Linked DNA regions of Homo sapiens: regions 1 and 2 are each linked to region 3. The links are contacts of gene promoters, found by promoter capture Hi-C in blood cells and fetal thymus (Javierre and others, 2016). All regions are on one chromosome and are shown on one strand. The core of a region is centred on a gene start or on the middle of the fragment in contact, and the rest is flanking DNA. Distances in the headings are between cores, read along the strand shown. Region 1 has its middle 11 kb from the start of MIR2117HG. Region 2 overlaps DHX8 (DEAH-box helicase 8). Region 3 holds the start of SOST (sclerostin).

Evidence for each region. Contacts are between HindIII fragments. The CHiCAGO score rates a contact against its expected background, and 5 or more counts as called.
Region 1: a contact is called between a fragment that was not itself captured here and the fragment with the promoter of SOST in region 3, in 1 of 17 cell types (erythroblasts). The highest score is 5.1, in erythroblasts.
Region 2: a fragment that was not itself captured here is called in contact with the fragment with the promoter of SOST in region 3 in 3 of 17 cell types (M1 macrophages, endothelial precursors and M2 macrophages); the score reaches 7.0 in M1 macrophages.

The regions. Positions count from the first base shown.
Region 1 is chr17:43,432,139-43,435,284 of GRCh38, forward strand. No RefSeq gene overlaps it. Among named protein-coding and RNA genes, the nearest start is that of MIR2117HG, 11 kb to the right of the region's middle. The HindIII fragment of the contact is 4,796 bases long and covers 1-3,146 here.
Region 2 is chr17:43,499,668-43,502,986 of GRCh38, forward strand. DHX8 (DEAH-box helicase 8) reads left to right here. Exons shown (of 23, transcript NM_004941.3): 11 at 289-436. Among named protein-coding and RNA genes, the nearest start is that of DHX8, 17 kb to the left of the region's middle. The HindIII fragment of the contact is 951 bases long and covers 1,282-2,232 here.
Region 3 is chr17:43,757,279-43,760,290 of GRCh38, forward strand. It overlaps SOST (sclerostin), which reads right to left and starts at 1,513. Exons shown (of 2, transcript NM_025237.3): 1 at 1,244-1,513. The coding sequence starts at 1,463. The HindIII fragment of the contact is 6,420 bases long and covers 1-2,481 here.

The DNA.
Region 1 (3,146 bases), core at 639-3,138, 320 kb before region 3:
TTTACCAGGATGGTCCTCATCTATTTGACCTCTCTGTAATGTTTGAAGCTGTTGGCCACTTTTTCCTTCTGGAATCTCTTTCCTTGTCTTCTGGGAGTCCTTCCTCTCTCACTTTCCTAATCTTTTCTTCTCCATCTCCAACTTCCTCCCCCACCCTGAAAATGTTGACATGTTCCCAGTTCTCTGTTTCAGTTCTTTTCCTATTCTCTTTGCTCCCTCAGAGAGTGACACATGCTGTTGGTTGCCAATTCAACACTCATTCTCTCTTCTTTTTTTTTTTTTAAGATGGAGTTTTGCTCTTGATTCCCAGACTGGAGTGCAATGGCGCGATCTCGGCTCACTGCAACCTCTGCCTTCCAGGTTCAAATTATTCTCCTGCCTCAGCCTCCCAAGTAGTTGGGATTACAGGTATGTGCCGCCATGCTTGGCTAATTTTGTATTTTTAGTAGAGACGGGTTTCTCCATGTTGGTCAAAGTGGTCTCGAACTCCCGACCTCAGGTGATCCGCCCGCCTCAGCCTCCCAAAGTGCTAGGATTACACGTGTGAGCCACTGCACATGGCCTTTTTTTTTTTTTTTTAGACAAGTCTTGCTCTGTCACCCAGGCTGGAGTACACTGGGGCTATCTTGGCTCACAGCAACCTCTGCCTCCTGGGTTCAAGTGATTCTCCTGCCTCAGCCTCTCGAATAGCTGGGATTACAGGCGCAGGCCACCATGTTTGGCTAATTTTTGTATTTTTAGTAGAGACAGGGTTTCACCATGTTGGCCAGGCTGGTCTTGAACTCCTGACCTCAGGTTATCTGCCTGCCTTGGCTTCACAAAGTGCTGAGACTACAGGCAAGATACACCGCACCCAGCCATTCTCTCTTCTTGTTCAGGGAGGGTGACCCCTCCTCTGTGCCAAAGGATGAATCATGATTGGTTCAAACAATCATGGTAAATCATTTATCTTTGCCTATGATTTAAGAGTGGACACGTAGGCTGGGCACAGTGACTCACGCCTGTAATCCCCGTACTTTGGGAGGCTGTCGCGGCTGGATCATGAGGTCAGGTGTTTGAGACCAGCCTGGCCAACATAGTGAAACCCTGTCTCTACTAAAAATACAAAAATTAGCCGGGTGTGGTGACACGTGCCTGTAGTCCTCAGCTACTCGGGAGGCTGAGGCAGGAGAATCGCTTGAACCTGGGAGGCGATGCTTGCAGTGAGCTGAAATTCTGCCAGTGTACTCCAGCCTGGCTGACAGACTGAGACTCCGTCAAAAAAAAAAAAAAAATGATTAGACATGTGACATACTCCTTGCCAATGGAGCACAAACAGAAGTTTAGATGGGAGGCATTTCAGGAAACAAATGTGTGGGGAGAAGCTGCCTTTTATACCTTTAAACAAGATTTGAGGACATGGTGCCTGAAGCTGTAGAATCCATCTGCAGCTGAGCCTGGGGAGAAGTTGAACAGAGTCAGTCACAGTGATGCTGTCCTGAGCTTTGAGGTAGTTAAGCCAGTAAGTGAATCAATCCTGGACTGAACCTGCTATTCTCATTTTTGAGTTGCTATGAGTTGGGTTTTCTGCTACCTGCAGCTGAAAGCATTCCCAATGGTACATAGGGAGATACTAACATCTCCCATGACTTTGACTACCAGCTCTGCACTGTTGCTGCCAAAGTTTATGAGTTTAATTCAGATCTCTTACTTGTAGCATCATAGATGTCTTCACATGAATATCCCTCACACTTAAGATCTAAACAAAACCCCATCTGTATATCCTCTTATTCTCAGGCCAAGTCAACTGGCTTTCCATCATCCTGCAGTAATTTGTTCATACCTCTGTTAGAGCATTTGTCCCATGAGTTTGTTTGTTTAACTGTGTCTGTCTTCCCCTTTAGAATATAAATTCTCCTTTAGAACCTTTTTTTTTTTTTTTTGACAGAGTCTTGCTCTTGATCTGTCACCAGGCTGGAGTGCAGTGGCGCAATCTCGGCTCACTGCAACCTCCACCTCCTGGGTTCAAGCGATTCTACCACCTCAGCCTCCCAAGTAGCTGGGACTACAGGCGCCCAGCACCACATCCAGCTAATTTTTGTATTTTTAGTAGAGATGGGGTTTCACTATGTTGGCCAGGCTGGTTTGAATTTCCTGACCTCATGATCCGCCCACCTCGGCCTCCCAAAGTGCTGGAATTACAGGCATAAGCCACTGTGCCCAGCCTAGAACCTTATCACATCTTTAAATCCCTAGTATTAAGTAGAAGCTATTATATACTTGTTGAACAAATTAATTGGCAAATGTTCAGAATGTTCAGAGGTGTTCAACTGCAAGTAACACAATATCTAAAGACTAGTGACTTAAATTGTAAAGATGTTTACCTATCTCACAAAATGTGAACTTTGGAGTTACATTGTTCCAGGATTAGTTAAGCAGCTCATCAAAGTCAGGAAACTGAGTCAGAATATCTGAGATCCTCTTGGCTCAGAATCTCTGAGATTCTTCATTGTTGCAAAGTAGCTGCCACAACTCCAACATTACATCTTTGCACAACAATCTTCCAAGCAGGAAACAAGGGAAGCAGATCTTGGTGGCAGCAAAAGGGCTTCCACTTCACATACTTCTCTCTTTTTAGGGGGGTGCAAATCCTTCCAGAAACAACTCTCTGCATTGTTAACTGGAACTATGTTATGTATCCCCTTGGATCAATATCTGGCAAAGGGAACAGCAATGACCGAGATCGGCTTAGACCGATCTTGAGTCATTCCTGGTGCTGGTCATGTTGCTGTCTGACCAAAGGAGGATTCTGAATCAAGGTGGGAGAGTATCTACCGGATAGGTGATTAATGATACTTGCCCTTGATGTGGTTTCCTGAGTCCAAGCTCTTCCAGAACCCTCGCTGTTTCTTGGGCACTTCTGAGATACACATAGCTCTGTGGTCAGCCTGTTCCTTTATAGAACAATCCCTATATTCTCCATGTTTAGTGATCCATAGCAGAGGCTGATTATGTGCAGTTGTATAACTCTGTGAACTTGCTCTTTAGCAGGGCTAGTGCACACAGGAGTCAGTGTCAAGGGGAGGTGGATGGCGGCAACTTTGCTTGCCAAGCCACGCACCTTGGCATGGGGTTGTGTCTGTTTGGAGGTAGGAGTATCTTGTTGC
Region 2 (3,319 bases), core at 507-3,006, 260 kb before region 3:
CTTATACCTTTCTTATGTCCTTCATACGTTTAAAGGTAGCACATCATTCCTATCTCTTTTGGGGTTCTCATATTCAAACTAAACATCCAGTTCCTTCAATGATGTAACATTGTCCTTGTTCATTTTATCTGAATATGCTACGGTTTATCCATTTCTTTCATATAGTCTGTTACATTGATAAGAACTTTATTCCAGATGTAGTCTCATGTTTTAGATTACAGGAGCTTAACTTCTACATATTATTTCCCGGACATTTAATCCATGTTGTTTTTTCTTCTGTTGCACCAGAACCCAGACGGCTCCCTCTCCCAAGCAGCAATGATGCAGAGTGCCTTGGCCAAAGAAAGGCGGGAACTCAAACAGGCCCAGCGGGAAGCTGAGATGGATTCTATTCCCATGGGACTCAACAAACACTGGGTTGACCCTCTGCCTGATGGTAGGACCCTTGGAGGGGTGTATGGACCTTGTTTAAAAATCTGAGCCTTTCAGAACACAGGGAGGGGTCACTCCCGGCACACACTAAAAATTTACCCTTGGGCCGGGGCGGTGGCTCATGCCTGTAATCCCAGCACTTTGGGAGGCCAAGGCAGGTGGATCACCTGAGGTCAGGAGTTCGAGACCGACCTGGCCAACATGGTGAAACCAAGTCTCTACTAAAAAAATACAAAAGTTAGCCAGGCATGGTGGCACACACCTGTAATCCCAGCTACTCGGGAGGCTGAGGCAGGAGAATCGCTTAAACCCAGGAGGTGGAAGTTGCAGTGAGCTGAGATCAGGCAAGTGTACTCCAGCCTGGGTGATAGAATGACACTCCATCTCGAAAAAAAAATTTACCCTTGGTTTTTCACTTCAGTTAGAGCATGTTTGGTTTTTTCTTAAACACATGTTTAAAACCAAAAATGTTTTAATAGCCATGGTCAAATCATTAGACTGAGTTTTTCTTCTGAATCACTTTAAAAATGTTATTCTAGCGCGGTGTCTCATGCTGTAATCCCAGCACTTTGGGAGGCTGAGGCGGGCGGATCACAAGGTCAGGAGATCGAGACCATCCTGGCCAACATGGTGAAACCCCGTCTTTACTAAAAATACAAAAAATAGCCAGGTGTGGTGGTGCGCGCCTGTAGTCCCAGCTACTCGAGAGACTGAGGCAGGGGAATCGCTTGAACCCTGGAGGCGGAGGTTGCAGTGAGCCAAGATCGCGCCACTGCACTCCAGCCTGGCTACAGAGTGAGACTCCGTCTCAAAAAAAAAATTTTTATTCTAAAGGTAATACAGCTTTGAAGCTTCCTTTTTCATATAATTCTTTGTGCAGTAAATATTAGCTACTAGATATAGTCATAACAAATACTTATTAATTTAATTTGTGTTTGGCAACTGGGGATACGATTTGAATTAAACAGATATGATCCCTGCTTTTATGCGCTACAACTTAGTCGGGGATATGGATATTAATTAAATAATCACCAAATAATTAAATTATGATCAGTGCCATGTGAAGAAGTACAGGCAGTGTAATTGACTGTGGTGGGTCACTTCCCTGGGGAAATCGAGACCCAAAGGATAAATTGGACTCAGTCTGTCAAGTGGAGATGGGATGGAGGTTGGGGAGTATGTTCCAGCCTGAGGAGTAGCCCGTGTTGGGTTTGTGGGGTGGGAAAGAAGGAACTGAAAGAAGGCTTGTGTGGATGGAATAGAGAGAGCAGTGGGCAGTGGTAGGGGATGAGATAAGAACATCAGGCCAGGGCTTTGTAGGTGGCATTAGGAAGCTGGGCTCAATTCTAATAGCACTGGGAGATGTTGAAAAGTTCTTTTGTTGTTGTTGTTTTTGTTTCTGAGACAGAGTTTTGCTCTTGTTGCCTAGGCTGGAGTGCAACACCATGATCTTGACTCACTGCAACCTCCACCTCCCTGGTTCAAGTGATTCTCCTGCCTCAGACTCCCAGGTAGCTGGGATTACAGGCATGCACCACCACGCCTAGCTAATTTTTTGTATTTTTAGTAGAGACGAGGTTCCTCCATGTTGGTCAGGCTGGTCTCGAACTCGCGACCTCAGGTGATCCCCCCCCCATCTCAGCCTCCCAAAGTGCCGGGATTACAAGTGTGAGCCACCGTGCCCAGCCAGATGTTGAAAGTTTGCAGCTGGCACATGGCATGACCAGAGTTGCATTTCCAAAGGATGATTGAGGGTGCCCTGCAGAATGAGTTGGATGGGGCACATGTGATGATTTAGAAAGCTTTTATGAAGAGAGAGAATGGTGGCTTGAACATGGAGGTAGCAAAGAGGAGGGATGTACTTGAGAAAAGTAATTTGTTGAATGTGGGGCAACAGGAATGGTCAAAGATGACTTCCAGGTTTCTGGTATGAGCACTAGGATGAATGATGGGAACACTGGAGGAGAAATGGGTTTGTGGGGAAAGATGGTCAAATTCCGTTTTGGACTTGTGTCCGAGGCAACTAGAGGACATCTTAGGTTGAGGTATCCAGTGTAGAATTGAGTATAAGAGCTCAGAAGAGAGGTCTGGGCTGGAGACAGAAGTTTGGGAATTGTGTTAATTTAGATATCAGTTTGGCTGCATGTAATAGAGATTCAAATATTAGATTAGGTTCGGCATGATGGCTCACGCCTGTAATCCCAACACTTTGGGAGGCCGAGGCAGGAGAATTGCTTGAGGCCAGGAGTTCAAGACCAGTCTGGGCAACATAGTAAGACCTTATCTGTATTTTATTTTATTTTGTTTTGTTTTGTTATTTTAGTTTAGTTTAGTTTAGTTTTTGAGATGGAGTCTCACTATGTTGCCCCAGCTGGAGTGCAGTGGTGCAGTCTTGGCTCACTGCAACCTCTGCCTCCTGGGTTCAAGCGATTCTCCTGCCTCAGCCTCAAGTAGCTGGGACTACAGGTGACCGCCACCACGCACGAGTAATTATTTTGCATTTTTGGTAGAGACAGCGTTTCACCATGTTGGTCAGGCTGGTCTCGAACTTCTGACCTCAAATGATCTTGCCCACCTTGGCCTCCCAAAGTGCTGGGATTACTGGTGAGCCACCGTGCCTAGCCCTTGTCTCTATTTTAAAATTAAATTTTTAAAAACGACAAAAATAAAAACCAAAATATTAGATTTACAGTAGAAGGTTGGACATATTCGTTCATTGTTTAACAATATCATCTTCCATTTCCTCAGAATAAACCCATTCATTCCCTTTTACCCTTTAGTGAAATGTTCTCCATGACCCTCCTTTGGCCTCTGCCTAAGCTCACTTATTTGGTTAGTAGGCATAAGTATTTTTTCGTAGCCAGCTTTTGGCATCAAATTTGTAAAA
Region 3 (3,012 bases), core at 263-2,762:
ACATTTTGTGTTTGGGTTCCTTACAGCCCTTCAGGCAGTCGCTGGAGCCCAGCTGACCTTGCCTAGAAGGGGAGCTGTGGGGGGAGGCGCCCTTGTCCTCCATTTTGAAGACGGAGGGTCCTGGCTGGCCTCCCATGCAGTTGCCCTTTTTAGCACCCCATAGTCCCAACAGGTTGTGAGGCGGGGAGGGCTGGGGTCCAGGAGCCTGGGCAGTGGACTTCTCTGCCACCTGGATAATGGCCAGAGGACAGGGAAGCTCTTAGTCTGAAGTGTCATTTCAGACGCCCCCATGGCCTCAGGATTCCTGCCAATTATAGAGCCAGATGCACACTGTCACCTGGGCTTCTCTGTGCAGGCCTGACCAGGAACCCAGGGTTCCTCTTCCTTCTCCCTCCCCTGGAATGAGGCAAGGTTGGGACTGGGGTGGCTGCTGAGGACAGATGTCCCTACTCCTGCACAGAGGATGCTGCTCTCCCCTCCAGGGCCTGGACTCAGCTGCACCCATGTCAGGGGCTAAAACTGTGCCGAAAACTCCCATTCCTTCAAGTGCCAGCTCCCTGGGCAGGCCGTGGGCAATGCACACTGCAGGGGTGCCTCTCTGGCCTTCCTCCCCACTGCTTTGTGGAGATCTGTCCCCCACACCCCCCCACACACCAGGGCTATCTTGCAGTTGGATCAAACCAGGTTCACACCTCAGCTCTTCTCACTACCAAGTTACTGAGTGCCTGGAACCTGTTTCTTCCCCTTCGAGCTGGGGGTTCACCTCCTGGGGATTCCATGATGTGGGTCTGTGTGGTGGGGACAGCCACCACCAGCATAGAGTGTCCGGTGCCCCACAGGTGCTGTTCTGTGGATGGGAGGCTCCCTTACCTTGTTCCCTTCCCAGTGGTACCAGCAGCTGGACGTGGCTCCTATATTCCCAGGAGGAGATTCTTTGAAACCTTTTCTTTTCTGAGCCCCTGAGCCTGTTCTGATGCCCTGATGCCATACCCTCACCACCCCAGCGTCCTCCCTGCCCTGGGCTCTCACCAGCGTCTGTTGCCTCATGCCTCTGCACCTGAATTTGAAGGCTGCACCAGCGAGCCATTCTTCCCCCACCTCCAGGCAAGACTGTTCCTCGACCAGTGCTGGCAGAGGCCAGCAATCTTCACTGGGTCTACCCCAGTCTTCCAAGCCTCCCAAAGAGAAGTTTCTAAAACCTCCCCAGGATCTTTTACTAAGAATTCTCTCCTCCACCCCATACCTTTGGTCTCAAAGGGGTGGTGGGGAGGCCGCCCTCCGTTCTCCGCCCGGTTCATGGTCTTGTTGTTCTCCAGCTCCGGTGGAGGCTCGGGGTACTCTCCGAGCTCGGGGATGATTTCCGTGGCATCATTCTTGAACGCCTGCCACCCCTGGCCCTCCACTACACGGAAGGCTGTGTGTACCAGCAGGCAGACGAGACACAGGGCCAGTGGGAGCTGCATGGTACCAGCCAGAGGAGGGCACGCCACCTTCCAGTAGCACAGGCTCTGGTCTCCAGCCGAGACACGGTCGCCTTTTTAAAGCCCCTCTCTGCTTCATGCCAGCCAATGAGGACAGGCTGGGGCAGGGCTGGTCCCATGTTTCCCTCAGCCCCGGAGGGAGGGAAAGGGGTGTGCTCAGAGCAAACCCTCCCCAAAGACTTCTCCTCTAGCTCAGCAAACTTCCAAATTGCTGCTGGCACTCCCAGGTGACCCAGAGAGAGGGGGCGTGTGAGGCAAGGCCCAAGCCTGCTCTCCGGCACCTCCCACGTGCTGGCGGCTGTGGTTTTCAGATATCAAAATGAGCTCCGGCTTTTAATTGTCTGTCTCCCTGGGCCCTCGGGCATTCTCAAAACAAACTGTGGACCCGCTCAACAAAGAAAATGTGCAGTTCTGAGTGCTTCGCGGGGCTGAGCCCGGCCTATTCCATTTCTCAGGCCAAGTTCATTTGTCACCCCACCAACAAATGGCCCAAGGCGTTTCTGTTTGACCCCCATAGACCCAGCCAGAGGCAAAAAGATGCTTTTAAAGAAATCCCATTGGTCCCAACTCCACAAGTCTCAGCATTCATTGTCCTAACCAAGAAAGCCTCTCTTGGTATTCTCTGGAAGGCAAGAGAGAGAACTAGAGGGTCAGAGCAAGGGTGCCCGCTTGGGAGAGAGGGCAGGATTCTGGTTACAAATCGAGGATGCGCTGGTCACTCAGGCTCCTGTGGTGGACAGCACAGAGGAAATCCCAGCTCATGCTCCTCAGGGATCCTGTGCACTGTGACAGGCACTTCTGAGCCAGGGCACTCACTGTGGCTCGCAGGGTGATGTGCTGAAGACAGTCATTTCCCCAACCAGTCTGTGTGTGTGAGAAGACAACACCAAATTCCTTTCCTTAGCAAAAGCCACAGCCAGCGTTTTTAGTGCTGACATTTTATTTTCTTGTCTTCCAGCTGGTTACATTTTTCAAAAACAGTTTTGAGTCCTGTATGGAAAGCTTCATTGGTGCACACCACAGGATGTGTTCCATGAAGCCATCCCAGGACCAAGTGGTCACAAAGAAGCTAAGAGAAAATGCTGCCTTGGCCCTGCATATAATGAGCCACACAGGGCCGGGGCGGGGGGCGGGGGGGCAGGTAGAGGCGTGGGGGAGAAGGATTCACACCTGAGGTGCAAGAAGAGAAAGGAAGGCCAGAGGAATCTTTCATTGAAGACAGATTGTTTGAGGACAAGCAGCTCCTGTGAAGAGGCTGCCCAGATCCTCTGGTATTTTAACTGGGCAATGAATCAGCATGCCCCACCTGCAGAGCCTCTGCAAGTCCTTTGCCACCTGCCTCAACTTGCAAGTCGCTGTGTCCATCTGCAGCCGACTGTCCTCCTTTCCATCATCCATCATCCGACACATGAATGCAGCTGCTCTGACAGTTTTACAAGCCAGACAGAAGCCCCCTCAGGAAGGGCCCTCTCTGATACCTGCTTCCTAAGTCAGTTTCCTTCAGGGCAGATGAAAACAGCTGTGGCCATTG